Linked DNA regions of Homo sapiens: regions 2 and 3 are each linked to region 1. Evidence: promoter capture Hi-C in 16 types of primary human blood cells and fetal thymus (Javierre and others, 2016). All regions are on one chromosome and are shown on one strand. The core of a region is centred on a gene start or on the middle of the fragment in contact, and the rest is flanking DNA. Distances in the headings are between cores, read along the strand shown.

Region 1 (3,898 bases), core at 457-2,956:
CAACAGGAAAGCTTGGGAAAGACAATACTACTTCACGACCCAGTCAGGAGACCCGAACTTGTTCCATTCCTACATTCGTGACTTCTCCACCCAAGGACACTCCCCGCACCCGCGCCCCAACGCCTTCACAAAACCCAACATATCCGCGATCAAACCTTCAACTCTCCCAGTGGCCCCCAGAGGTCCAGAGCTTGGAATCTTCTTCTGCCTCCTCACCTCTGAATCCCGCCATTCTTCTCCCTCCTGTAGAATTTCATTTCCTGGCTGGGACCAGGCTCTAACCATCAGGCTTCCAGCCGGGCCCCGGAACTTGCAGCCCGCTCTAGCCTGTCTGGCTCCTGCCCGAGCCCCTCGGCTCCAGCCTGCTCTCATCCCAACCCTGCCTCTTCCGTCGGTCACGTTGTTTCCTCCGCTTGGAAGGACCTCTTTCCTCTCCGGGCCCTTCCCAGTGCTCGGGGAACTCCTACACAGCCTGCGCTCCTCCGCTTCCAGCCACCCTCGCCTCCCACCACCCTGGCTTTGGAGCTGAACCGGCCGCGCAGCCGGGCGGCGACCATCCGTCCCCCGGCCGCTGACCCCAGCGCTCCGGCCTCGCCGCAGTCCCTGGCCCCTCGGCGTTCGTTTCCCCACCCGCCACCTGGCTTTCGCCGCCGCCGCCCGGGAAGCCCTCGGCACTTCCCAGAATAGAGAGCAGCTGCCAACGTCAGGCTGCCGCCTGCCGCGGGGTTCCGGACACGCGGGGTCTGGGCGGAGAGGACGTGACTCCGCGCTGGCCTTCCGCCTTCCCTCCCCGGTCGGGAAACTGAGGCCCGGGACCGGGAACCACTTCCCCGCGAGCACGGTCCGCGAGGGCCCGGCCAACCCCGGTCCTAGGCGTCCCGACTCCCGCGCGCGATCCTTCGACCACACGCGCCGCTCGGTCACCTCAGAGAGCGTGGCGGGGAGCGGGTCTCAGAGCGAGCGCACGGCCCGGGAACGCGCAGGGCGCCAGCCCCGGCCAAGTCGCTGCGAAAGTTGTTGTCTCCCAGCCTGCCCTCGCCTCTCACCTCCGGGACACACCTTCCCGCTTGCCCTGGCAGCAGCGCACTCACATCCGGTCCACCTTGCGCACACCCCTCTCCGCGCTCACTCGCAGCCCCTCTCCCTCCCACGCCCGCGGCTCCCCGTCGCCCCCTCGCGCGCTCCCACCCGCGCCCGGGGCGCGCCTTCCCCGCCCCGCCGCTCGCCCGGCCTCGGCGCCGCGCCCGCCCGGGGTTCCGGCGCCCGGAGCCCCAGCCCGGGGCCGCGACCCGCTTCCGCCCGCCTGGCGCGGGGCCGGAGCCCGAGCAGCCACTGCCGAGCGCGGTGGGCGCGAGGCGAGGGGCGCAGCGGCGCGGGGCGGGGAGGGGGCGCTCGCTCGCTCCCTCTCGGCTGCGCACACGCCCGTACAAACTCTCACACAGACACACGCGGGGTGCGCTGCCGCCGCCCGCCGCTGCTCCTCCTCCCGCCACCGCCTTGAGAGGGAGAGAGAGGGAGGCAGAGAGAGCGCTTTGTCCGCGCGCCGCCGCCCGGCCCGGGACTCTGCCCCGAGGAGGCAGCCGCGCCGAGTCCCCGCCTCCGCCTCTGCCCCCGGGCGGGCCGGGCCGGCCGCGGTGGGGGGAGCCAGGCTGAGGGTGGGGGTGGGTGGCGGGCGGGCGGAGGGCGGGGAGGGGGGGCGGAGGAGGAGGAGAGACGAGGGCAGCGGAGGAGGCGAGGAGCGCCGGGTACCGGGCCGGGGGAGCCGCGGGCTCTCGGGGAAGAGACGGATGATGAACAAGCTTTACATCGGGAACCTGAGCCCCGCCGTCACCGCCGACGACCTCCGGCAGCTCTTTGGGGACAGGAAGCTGCCCCTGGCGGGACAGGTCCTGCTGAAGTCCGGCTACGCCTTCGTGGACTACCCCGACCAGAACTGGGCCATCCGCGCCATCGAGACCCTCTCGGGTGAGCACTCAGCGCGGCCCCCTCCCCCCGCCTCGCCCCGCTCAGGCCGGGACGGCGCCGGGAGGGAGGCCGAGTCCGGCGGGCGGCGCCCGGCGGCGGCTCCCGCGCCCGCACGCTCACTTCCACGCACCAGACCCTCAACTCTCGCCGCCGGCCCGCTCCTGGGACGGCCCGCTCCCCTCCCCCCACAGCTCTGGACTCTGCCCTCGCCCTCGGGGCCGCAGCCTTGGGGCGCCCCCCGTGCCGCTCCGAAGGCTCCCGAGGCTCGCCGGCTCCTTAGGGGCACCCCTCGTTCGCCTGGCGCCCCGGGCTGCTCTGAGCTTCCCCGCCCCCCACCCTTTGAGCGTCCCCTGTCTCACTTCTCCCCTGACCTTCCTGTCACCCCCTTTGTCAGGGTCCCCCCTTCCCCAAATCCAGCGTCTCTTCCTCCTCCCCCGGCCGGACCTTCTCTCTTCCAGTGCCTCGTGCCCAGAACCTCTCGCCCTCTGGCGTCTCCTGAGCCGCACTCTCCTTTCGAGCCCCCTCCCCACCTCGCCCCACGGCCCCCCACTTTTGGCACCCCCTCGGCGCCACCCTGGTGACCCCCTTCGAGATCTCGGGGCTCCCCCAGCCCCAGCCCTCGCACGACGGCACATCCCCTCGGTCCTTTCCCGAACCTCAGTCCCCTCTCGCTTGCTCTCTCAAGCGCTCCTATTTTTCTCTGAATTTTTTGTCCGATTTTATTGAGAAGAACTCGGGGCTGGGGGCTTTCCGCCGCCCGTCCCCCCGCCTCCCGCTCGGCCAGAAGCACCTTTTTACGAGGTGCCCTGTCTCAACTCGGTGGGGGCCAGGGTTGAGAACCGGGAAAGAGGCGACCGGGGGGCCCGCGAGCGCGCTGGAGCCCAGACAGGAGACGGAGAGCGACACACACACACACTCGCGCGCGCGCACTCCCCAACTCTCCCCAGCACACGCTCCGCTCCCAGCCGCGCGGGCCCCCGGGCCCCGGCCGGCGCCCCCCGAACCCCGGCCCGGCGGGAGCCCCTTCCCCACCGGCGTGTGGAGTGGGGGCGGGGCGGCGGCGAGGCCAAGGTGACACCCAGGAGCGGGCAGGGACAGGGCTGTCGCTGCGGCGGACTCCGGGGGGCTTCGGCTCGTTTTCTCGGGGCCACCGGGAGGAGAGGGCAGGGAGGGGAGCCCGGTGGAGCCTTCGGGCCCCGGATTAGCGGAATGGAGAGGTGGGGGCCGGGAGAGCAGCGGGGCCGCGCCAGCCCTGCAGCTTGAGTTTCAAATGAGCTCATCCTTTCAAATTGGCGCCGCTCTTTATTAAATTTGTTTTTCCGGTAATGCCACCCACGGCTATACCTGGGGTCCGACCCGGGCTCGCACCCTCCTCGCCTTGTCCCGAGACACGGGGCGCCCACCTTTCTTTCTACTGGGAACCAAGTTCGCCCAGCTCGATCCGGGTAGGAGACCCCTTGGGGGCGCCCGAAGGCGGAGCCCGAGCGTGGAGTTCCGTGCGTGCCCCCCCTAGACCCCCGCGGGCTTGATCTAAGCAAGGTTCTGAGTGCTTTAATTTCTGTTTTAAAGGTAAAGTGGAATTGCATGGGAAAATCATGGAAGTTGATTACTCAGTCTCTAAAAAGCTAAGGTAAATATACTTTGCTTAGTTTTTTTTTTGCGATTGGCCTTACGTATAAGTAAAAAACGTACACACAGCTTTAAAAAACGTGCTCTTGGTAGTTTTTAAAGGGGCTTTTGTTTGTTTTGTTAGTGGAGATACATAGTTTAGAAAGCTACTTTTTTTTTTTTTACTTTCATTATATAAGGTGTTTACTGTTCTTGGAAAATATCTGGTGCCTAATTGGGGGTCGGGGTGGCGAACACCAGCTATGTTCAGTTCGCTGGGACCCTGTAACTTGTTTATCAAAAATTGCCTCCCACCCCCACCTCC
Region 2 (3,898 bases), core at 757-3,256, 150 kb after region 1:
AATTTGTTTTAAACAGTCATTCAACAAATATTTATTGAGTACTTACTATATACCAGGCACTGAGAACACGACACTAAGTAAGACATTCTCTGTTTGCAAGGAAATTCTAGTCTGAAAGGGGAAGAGGTAACTAAACAGGCTATTCACATACCATGTAATGAGTGCTGTCTTAGGGAAACAGGAATGCTGGAGAGCACAGACAGGGCATTTGAGCTGATCTTTGGGATGAAAGAAAGCTTCCTGCATGAGGGGTAATCTATGCTCAGGTGAAACCCACAGGTCAGTAGGACTTAGCCAGGTGAGAAGGGAGAAAAGCACTTCCTTGCCTAGGAAATAAATAGCATGTGAAGGGGCTCAGAGGTATTTAGGAAACAGGACTGGCCAGGTTGGAGATGAAGGGTTAGCAGGAGTGAGGCTGGCAAGGTGGCTGCCATCCCCAGGAAGAGCCTCATTTTCCATGACAAGATATGTAGACATGCCCAAGTGTGGCAGAGAAGCCTTGAAGGAACACCATGGTCAGGTTAAGATGTGGCACCCACCTCTGATACAGGGTAGGAAGAGCCTGGGCAGAGCTGATTAGGAGACGCTGGTGCCATTAAGACAAGAGAGGGAGGTTGACCCAGGCGTGCGGGCCTCTCTGGTCTCCTCCCTTCATCTTTTTTCTCCATTTCTATTCCCAGCAACAAGCCAATCTGATCCCAGGGTTGAACCTCAGCGCACTTGGCATCTTTTCAACAGGACTGTCCGTGCTATCTCCACCAGCAGGGCCCCGCGGAGCTCCCCCCGCTGCCCCCTACCACCCCTTCACTGTAAGTAGCTCAGCTTGTGGAGGTTTGCTTATGCGCTGGGCACCTCCAGGCAGCAGCATGCCTCTGCTGTGTGGAATCAGAACGGAAGCTTTCATTTAAAGGCCATGCTCGAGTAGAGATGAATCCAATGTAGGTTGAACTCAACATTTCTTAGGACTTCTTCCTAATGGGCAACTTAATATTAAACCAATCCTCTAAACACGTGTTCTTAAATATAGTATGTCATAACTAGCAAAGAAAGAAACTCATAGCAAATTCATCAACTAGAAGCTAATTTATTATAGAAAAGAACTTGTTAGCTCAAATAAGAACATTTCATGAGTGATGGTAATTTATTAAAATATATAGGGTACCTGGATGATTCTTGAAGAGAGATATATATCTACATACATACATGTGCAGTTTCTACCTATGTTTACAAGTCAAATGTATTGTCTTATTAATAGGCAATTTTTAAAAGAAAATATTACATACATTGTTTATGTCTAAACACTTAGCACAATGCCTGGTATTTAGTAAGTTCTCAATAAGTATTTGTTCACAACAGAAGAAGAAATGTGAATTTTGTGAGTGTTTTACTTATTGCTTTCATTCACAAGCATTATTCAAGATCAGTACATTACCAAATTGGGGGCTCAGGATACTTGACAGCTTTTTTTCATTCCTAATTTTTCTCTACGCAGACTGCTTATTTTTAAAAGCAAACTTTCCCCCAATGTTTATGCTGTTTAAATGGGAAGAATCAGGTGGGTGAACATTGCCTCAGCCATTCTGTTCTTTTGAGAAGTGCTTTCTGGGGTAGGCTTCACATTGTGTGAATTCCCAGTAGCTTTTTGGGTTATCTGTAGAGAGACAGGATGAATCCCCTGTGCCATCCTGCCAACAAAATGCAGACACAAACTGGCACCCACATGCTGAGTCACATATATGCACACATTCTGCATTCTTGCTTATATATGGCTCTTCTGAATCTTTTCTTTTTCTTTTTCTTTTTTTTTTTTTTTTGAGATGGAGTCTTGCTCTGTCGCCAGGCTGGAGTGCAGTGGCGCGATCTTGTCTCACTGCAACCTCCACCTCCTGGGTTCGAGCTATTCTCGTGCCTCAGCATCCCAAGTAGCTGGGATTACAGGCATGCATCACCACACCCAGCTAATTTTAGTAGAGAAGGGGTTTCACCATGTTGGCCAGGATGGTCTCCATCTCCTGACCTCGTGATCTGCCTGCCTCGGCCTTCCAAAGTGCTGGGATTATAGGCAGGAGCCACTACGCCCAGCCCCCTGAGTCATTTCTAAATCTCTTCATACCACCTCTTTAGTTATATCATTTCCCCTTAAACTGAAGGAGGGGACTGACACTGAGCCTTGTGTGTTGAGTAGCCTGAAGATGCAGTATGAGGGATTGTGGCAGCTGTCAGTCACATGGCTGCGCCAAGCAGTAAGAATAGCTTGGGAGTTTCACATCTCTGTATTTTTGCTGTCAGATCTGAGAATGGCCCAATGAGGTACAACCAAGTGGCATTGAGGCACATCATCATTTCTTGGGAGAGAGGCTGTACATACAGCCCCACAGAAGATAACCTCAAACGTTAGGCTACCCTCTTAGTATAGGTAATATAAGTGGGGAGAGAAAAAGGGCATAATAAATTAGACCAATTCTAAAATCGGTAATCTAGGCCGGGCATGATGGCTCACGCCTGTAATCCCAGCACTTTGGGAGGCTGAAGCAGGTGGATCTCCTGAGGTCAGGAGTTCAAGACTGACCTAGCCAGCATGGTGAAACCCCGTCTCTACTAAAACTACAAGAATTAGCCAGGTGTGGTGGTGCACGCCTGTAATCCCAGCTACTTGGGAGGCTGAGGCAAGGAGAATCACTTGAACCCTGGAGGCGGAGGTTACGGTGAGCTGAGATCGTGGCACTGCACTCCAGCCTGGGCAACAGAGTGAGACTTTGTCTCAAAATAAATAAATAAATAAATAAATTGGTAATCTCAAATATAGGAGTCAGCATGCTACAACCTGAGGGCCAAATCTAGCTCACCATTTATTTTCATTAATAAAGTTTTTTAGGGGACACAGCCATGGCTGTTTATATACATATTATCTATTCCTGCTTTCCCCCTGTAGTGGCAGAGCTGAGTAGATACATACAGATCACATGAGCCACAAAGCCTAAAATATTTATGATTTGCTCCTTTGCAGAAAAAGTTTGCTGACCCCTGAACTAAATTTAACAAGGAGAGAATTTTTCTTTTAATAGCAGAATATTTTCTAAACTTGAAAATAGGTTTTGCTAGTTGGAAAGCTTCCTTTATATCTCAGATTTTTACTAAAATAGTAGAATAACCATTTTGCTAAAATATGTGTTTCCTGTTATTTGTAAAATAGGTTTTAAATAAAAAATTGTTAAACTAAAAACAAAACAAAAACAACCAGGTAATTCTGATCTTGATTCCATGGGTCAATATTAGAGTAGCTTCTAATCCAGTACACTGACTGACTGAGACATGATGGCTTCTGCAGACATCTCCTTCATGCAGCTGCAGAAGTGCAGGTCCAATGGCATGGAGGCGGCCCTCACTGCCCACCTGTGCAGGACCTAGGCTATTCCTGGAGTGATACCTGGAGAGTCCACACCGCAGACCTGTGGGCTTCCCTGGTGGGCCCAGCAGACCTGTGGGCTTCCCTGGTGGGCCCAGGACTCCTGAGAACAGCAGCATAGGGTGGTGGAGATACTTTAAATACTTAAAGTATTGTTTTCCTGTCACATAGGCATTCAAATTTCAAGGAACTAAGATATTTCTTGGTTGCTTTTGTATATCACAAAGTTCTGATGCTTTTGCTTTTAGCATCCAAAGGTCAGGGAGTCTGTGTCCCTCCTTATAACTGGCTCATCCACACCTAGGTTGGTTTCCGAACTCTGGAATTTTTAATGCATATGTGTGTGTAGGAAAACTTTACCCCCCCCCCTTTTTTTTTTTTTTTACTGTTTTTCTGGTTATAATAGTAATATGTGCATAGTGTTTAAGAAGCAGGGAGTATGTACTTTTGAATTTCCCAAAAAACACATTTCTCTGATCCTAAAAAAGAAGC
Region 3 (3,898 bases), core at 562-3,061, 140 kb after region 1:
AATGAGAAAAAAATGAGTCATAATTTTATACTGATATTTATAAGAGTTTTTGATAAGGGGGAAATGGCCTTGAGTGGTGGAGAAACCAGGCTGTAATGTTGGATATGAAGCCTGACCAGGCTGATGCGTTGTGATTACTTGTTTAACTGTTAACCGTAAGCCCTGAGGGAGCAGAGATGGTGTCTGTCTTGCTCACCACTGTATGTTCAGTGCCTGGCATGGCACCATATAGGCACCTATTAAATGGGAGTGAATGAACCAGTCTTGCGGGAGGGTCTTTCTTTTTTTTTTTTTTTTTGAGACGGAGTCTCGCTCTGTCGCCCAGGCTGGAGTGCAGTGGCAGGATCTCGGCTCACTGCAAGCTCCGCCTCCCGGGTTCACGCCATTCTCCTGCCTCAGCCTCCCAAGTAGCTGGGACTACAGGCGCCCGCCACTACGCCCGGCTAATTTTTTGTATTTTTAGTAGAGACGGGGTTTCACCGTTTTAGCCGGGATGGTCTCGATCTCCTGACCTCGTGATCCACCCGCCTCGGCCTCCCAAAGTGCTGGGATTACAGGCGTGAGCCACCGCGCCCGGCCGGGAGGGTCTTTCTTGATGTTGGTTTCTGACGAAGCTCCCCTGTCCTGCTGCATTTCAGAGCCATGGAGAAGCTAAGCGGGCATCAGTTTGAGAACTACTCCTTCAAGATTTCCTACATCCCGGATGAAGAGGTGAGCTCCCCTTCGCCCCCTCAGCGAGCCCAGCGTGGGGACCACTCTTCCCGGGAGCAAGGCCACGCCCCTGGGGGCACTTCTCAGGCCAGACAGATTGATTTCCCGCTGCGGATCCTGGTCCCCACCCAGTTTGTTGGTGCCATCATCGGAAAGGAGGGCTTGACCATAAAGAACATCACTAAGCAGACCCAGTCCCGGTACGTGCCTGTGGGGCTTCCTTTGCTTCCTTCTGAGGGGTCCCCTGCGTGCTGGTGGGTCTCAGCCACTCTTAGGTCACAATTGCTTACATCAGCAGTGGGGGGCTGTGCTGTAAGAGACAGTGGCTTCTTTCAACAGGACTACTAACAGACTAACATCAAGCTGGGGGCTGTGACAAGCTTTCATGCTGAGAGGCTAAAAGTTCATAAAGAGGGTACTGATAACCTCACAGCCAGGACTGTTCCTGTAAGCGAACTAATGCTTATGGATGCATTGATTTCTACAAAAGCAGAGGTTTGGAGCTCTGCGGGATCCTAGAACCCACTCATCATAGCTCTTCCTCTTCCCCTGAGTCAGAGCCCTGGGGGTGGCCATTCTTGTGACAACATAGGTAGTCTCACAAAGAAGTGGGTGAGTCACTGCCACGTCAAGCAAGAAATAAAGCACACTGGCCTTCTGTTTAGTTTCCTCCCTGTTCAAGGAGACTGAACTGATTGTAAGAGTTGGTGAATAAAACGTCTTATGGAATTGTTGATTTTTGTATCTTCCTAAGACTGTAGCATGATGTAATAAAGCAAGCTCGGGACTTGAAAACAAAGACTTACGTTCAAGTTGTAGCACTTTAAATGGTTTTGTGATCTTGGAAAAGATGTTAACCTCTCTGAGCATCAGTTGCCTCTTCTATAAAAAGAGGGTTCTGGCTGGGCACCCTCTGTATTACAGAGACTCATCCCTGTAATCCCAGCACTTTGGGAGGCTGAAGCAGGGGGATCATCTGAGGTCAGGAGTTCGAGACCAGCCTGGCTAACATGGTGAAACCCTGTCTCTACTAAAAATACAAAAATCAGCCAGTTGTGGTGGCTCACGCCTGTAATCCCAGCTACTCTGGAGGCTGAGGCAGGAGAATCACTTGAACCCAGGAGGCGGAGGTTGCAGTGAGCCGAGATGGCGCCACTGCACTCCAGCCTGGGCAACAGAGTGAAACTCCATCTCTAAATAAATAAATAAATAGAGGGTTCCTGTCTGTTTTGCCAGGATTATTATGACAATTAGCACAATCAGGGAGATTGAGTGAAATAATTAATATGAAAGTACTTAAATTGCAAAGCACCCAATTACTGACACATAATAATTATTTACATGGGCTGGTACACTTTATTCAGGTCATTCAGTGGGTGTCTTGTAACCTGAAAGAGAAATGCTATTTTCTTCAGAATGTCTTATTTATCCCCAAATAATAGACACTGATATGGATGAGTCTGGAGTGCCACATCTTAGAAGTGAGGAAATAGAGAGGGAAGTTACTGTTTGGTATCCTTTTATTTTAAAATCAGCCCTGGCTTTTCCTCCAAGTTCACTGCGAAAGTGACTTTTATTTGTGTCTTTTTGTGCAAAAATTGTGTAAGGTGGCTTGAAAAAAAAATGTAACAAGTTTAAATAGAAGTGGGGTTAGCTCTCAAAGTGTGTGCCCATTTTTTAGACGTCAACCAAAGACTTGGCTCTAGGCTTTCTAACAACCAAAGTAAAAAGGATATAATCAGTTATGTAATTTTGAAAGTTAACAAAAACAGGTAGGACCACAACTACCCAAAGAAGTCTGATAAAGTCATCAAGCTTTTGAGCCATTAGTCTTAATGGCAGGCTGCCAATGGAAAGGAAACCAAAAACTTAGGCAGAGAGAGGGCATGCCTCTGTTTTCTATCCACACTCAAATATATAAAGCTTGCTTGAATTTGGTGTTCGGATTTGGATTAACATATGGCTTTTAAAAGCTGCAATCAGTTCAGAGACCGGCACTGTGCCAATGTGCAGTATTATCCTTCTCACTTTACTCTTCACTTCTGCAGTCATTTGAAAGACTACACAAAATACTTCATTTACCAAACTGGCTTCATTACTGAGTTGGCTTAGTGCCTTTGTCCTACAGCACTCCTGTAAGAACCGTTCCCTTCTAAATGAAGCTGCAAATAATTAAAATTTGGCACAAGACCCCCTGCACTGCTTGCCTCCTTCTTGGAGAATGGCACTGATTGCAAACGTGCTGATGACGCCTCCTTGTCTGTCTGTGTCCTTGCTGTACATGGGTTGGTGTGACGCTTTCTTGGGGCTAGGGTCCTATCCAGATGACCTTGTAATCATGGCTCCTGATTCTTTTCCTACAGGGTAGATATCCATAGAAAAGAGAACTCTGGAGCTGCAGAGAAGCCTGTCACCATCCATGCCACCCCAGAGGGGACTTCTGAAGCATGCCGCATGATTCTTGAAATCATGCAGAAAGAGGCAGATGAGACCAAACTGTAAGTTTGCATGCAATGCCCAGATCACTCAACAGAGAAAAAGAGTAGATTCTCCCTCATTTAACCCAAGAGGTTTTTTTTAAAAACTCCAAATCTGTTACTCAGTAACAGAGGCAGGGAGGGATTGTGTTTAAGAAATTTGTTCCCAAGTAGAATACAGTGGGAAGTAGATCTTTTGCATTTACATATGGCTGTCTCTTCACTTGCATGTCTCTCGGTGATTTTGATGCTTCTATCACCCATTGATAGTAATTATTGGGAGGAACATACAGACTCATGCTGTCCAATAGAACTTTCTGCAATGATAGAAATGTTCTATATCTGCACTGTTCAATAGCCACATGTTGCTATTGAGTATTTGAAATGTGGCTAGTACAGTGGAAGAACTGAGTGTTTTATTTTTTTACTCAGAGTTTGGTAGCCATGTGTATAGCTAATGCCCATTGAATTGGACAGTGCAAGTGTAGAAAGTATGTTGTCACCAAAGCTATCATTTATTGTCCTGGAAAAGATTTCTCCCACCATGCTTCTAAATTGTTTGCACTCTTAACATTGGATTACATTTCCTTAAGTAGTAGAAACTAGTTTACACATGGCTGCTTTATTCTTCTTCCACTTTTTTCTTCTATCTGTCCTTCCTCCTCACTACCCCCCTCTCCTTTTTTTTTTTTTAAGACAGAGTCTCACTC

What was found. The method cuts DNA at HindIII sites, captures the fragments that hold promoters and counts their contacts. A CHiCAGO score of 5 or more calls a contact.
Region 2: a contact is called between a fragment that was not itself captured here and the fragment with the promoter of IGF2BP2 in region 1, in 1 of 17 cell types (endothelial precursors). The highest score is 9.1, in endothelial precursors.
Region 3: a contact is called between a fragment that was not itself captured here and the fragment with the promoter of IGF2BP2 in region 1, in 1 of 17 cell types (endothelial precursors). The highest score is 7.5, in endothelial precursors.

What each region holds. Positions count from the first base shown.
Region 1 is chr3:185,822,850-185,826,747 of GRCh38, reverse strand. IGF2BP2 (insulin like growth factor 2 mRNA binding protein 2) reads left to right here and starts at 1,706. Exons shown (of 16, transcript NM_006548.6): 1 at 1,706-1,965; 2 at 3,535-3,595. The coding sequence starts at 1,788. RefSeq lists silencers at 889-978, 1,389-1,658, 1,670-1,900 and an enhancer at 2,840-3,703. The HindIII fragment of the contact is 1,788 bases long and covers 14-1,801 here.
Region 2 is chr3:185,669,452-185,673,349 of GRCh38, reverse strand. It overlaps IGF2BP2 (insulin like growth factor 2 mRNA binding protein 2), which reads left to right. Exons shown (of 16, transcript NM_006548.6): 10 at 681-809. Among named protein-coding and RNA genes, the nearest start is that of IGF2BP2-AS1, 42 kb to the left of the region's middle. The HindIII fragment of the contact is 2,213 bases long and covers 900-3,112 here.
Region 3 is chr3:185,686,368-185,690,265 of GRCh38, reverse strand. It overlaps IGF2BP2 (insulin like growth factor 2 mRNA binding protein 2), which reads left to right. Exons shown (of 16, transcript NM_006548.6): 6 at 639-911; 7 at 3,075-3,209. Among named protein-coding and RNA genes, the nearest start is that of IGF2BP2-AS1, 25 kb to the left of the region's middle. RefSeq lists a silencer at 765-942 and an enhancer at 598-1,797. The HindIII fragment of the contact is 1,435 bases long and covers 1,094-2,528 here.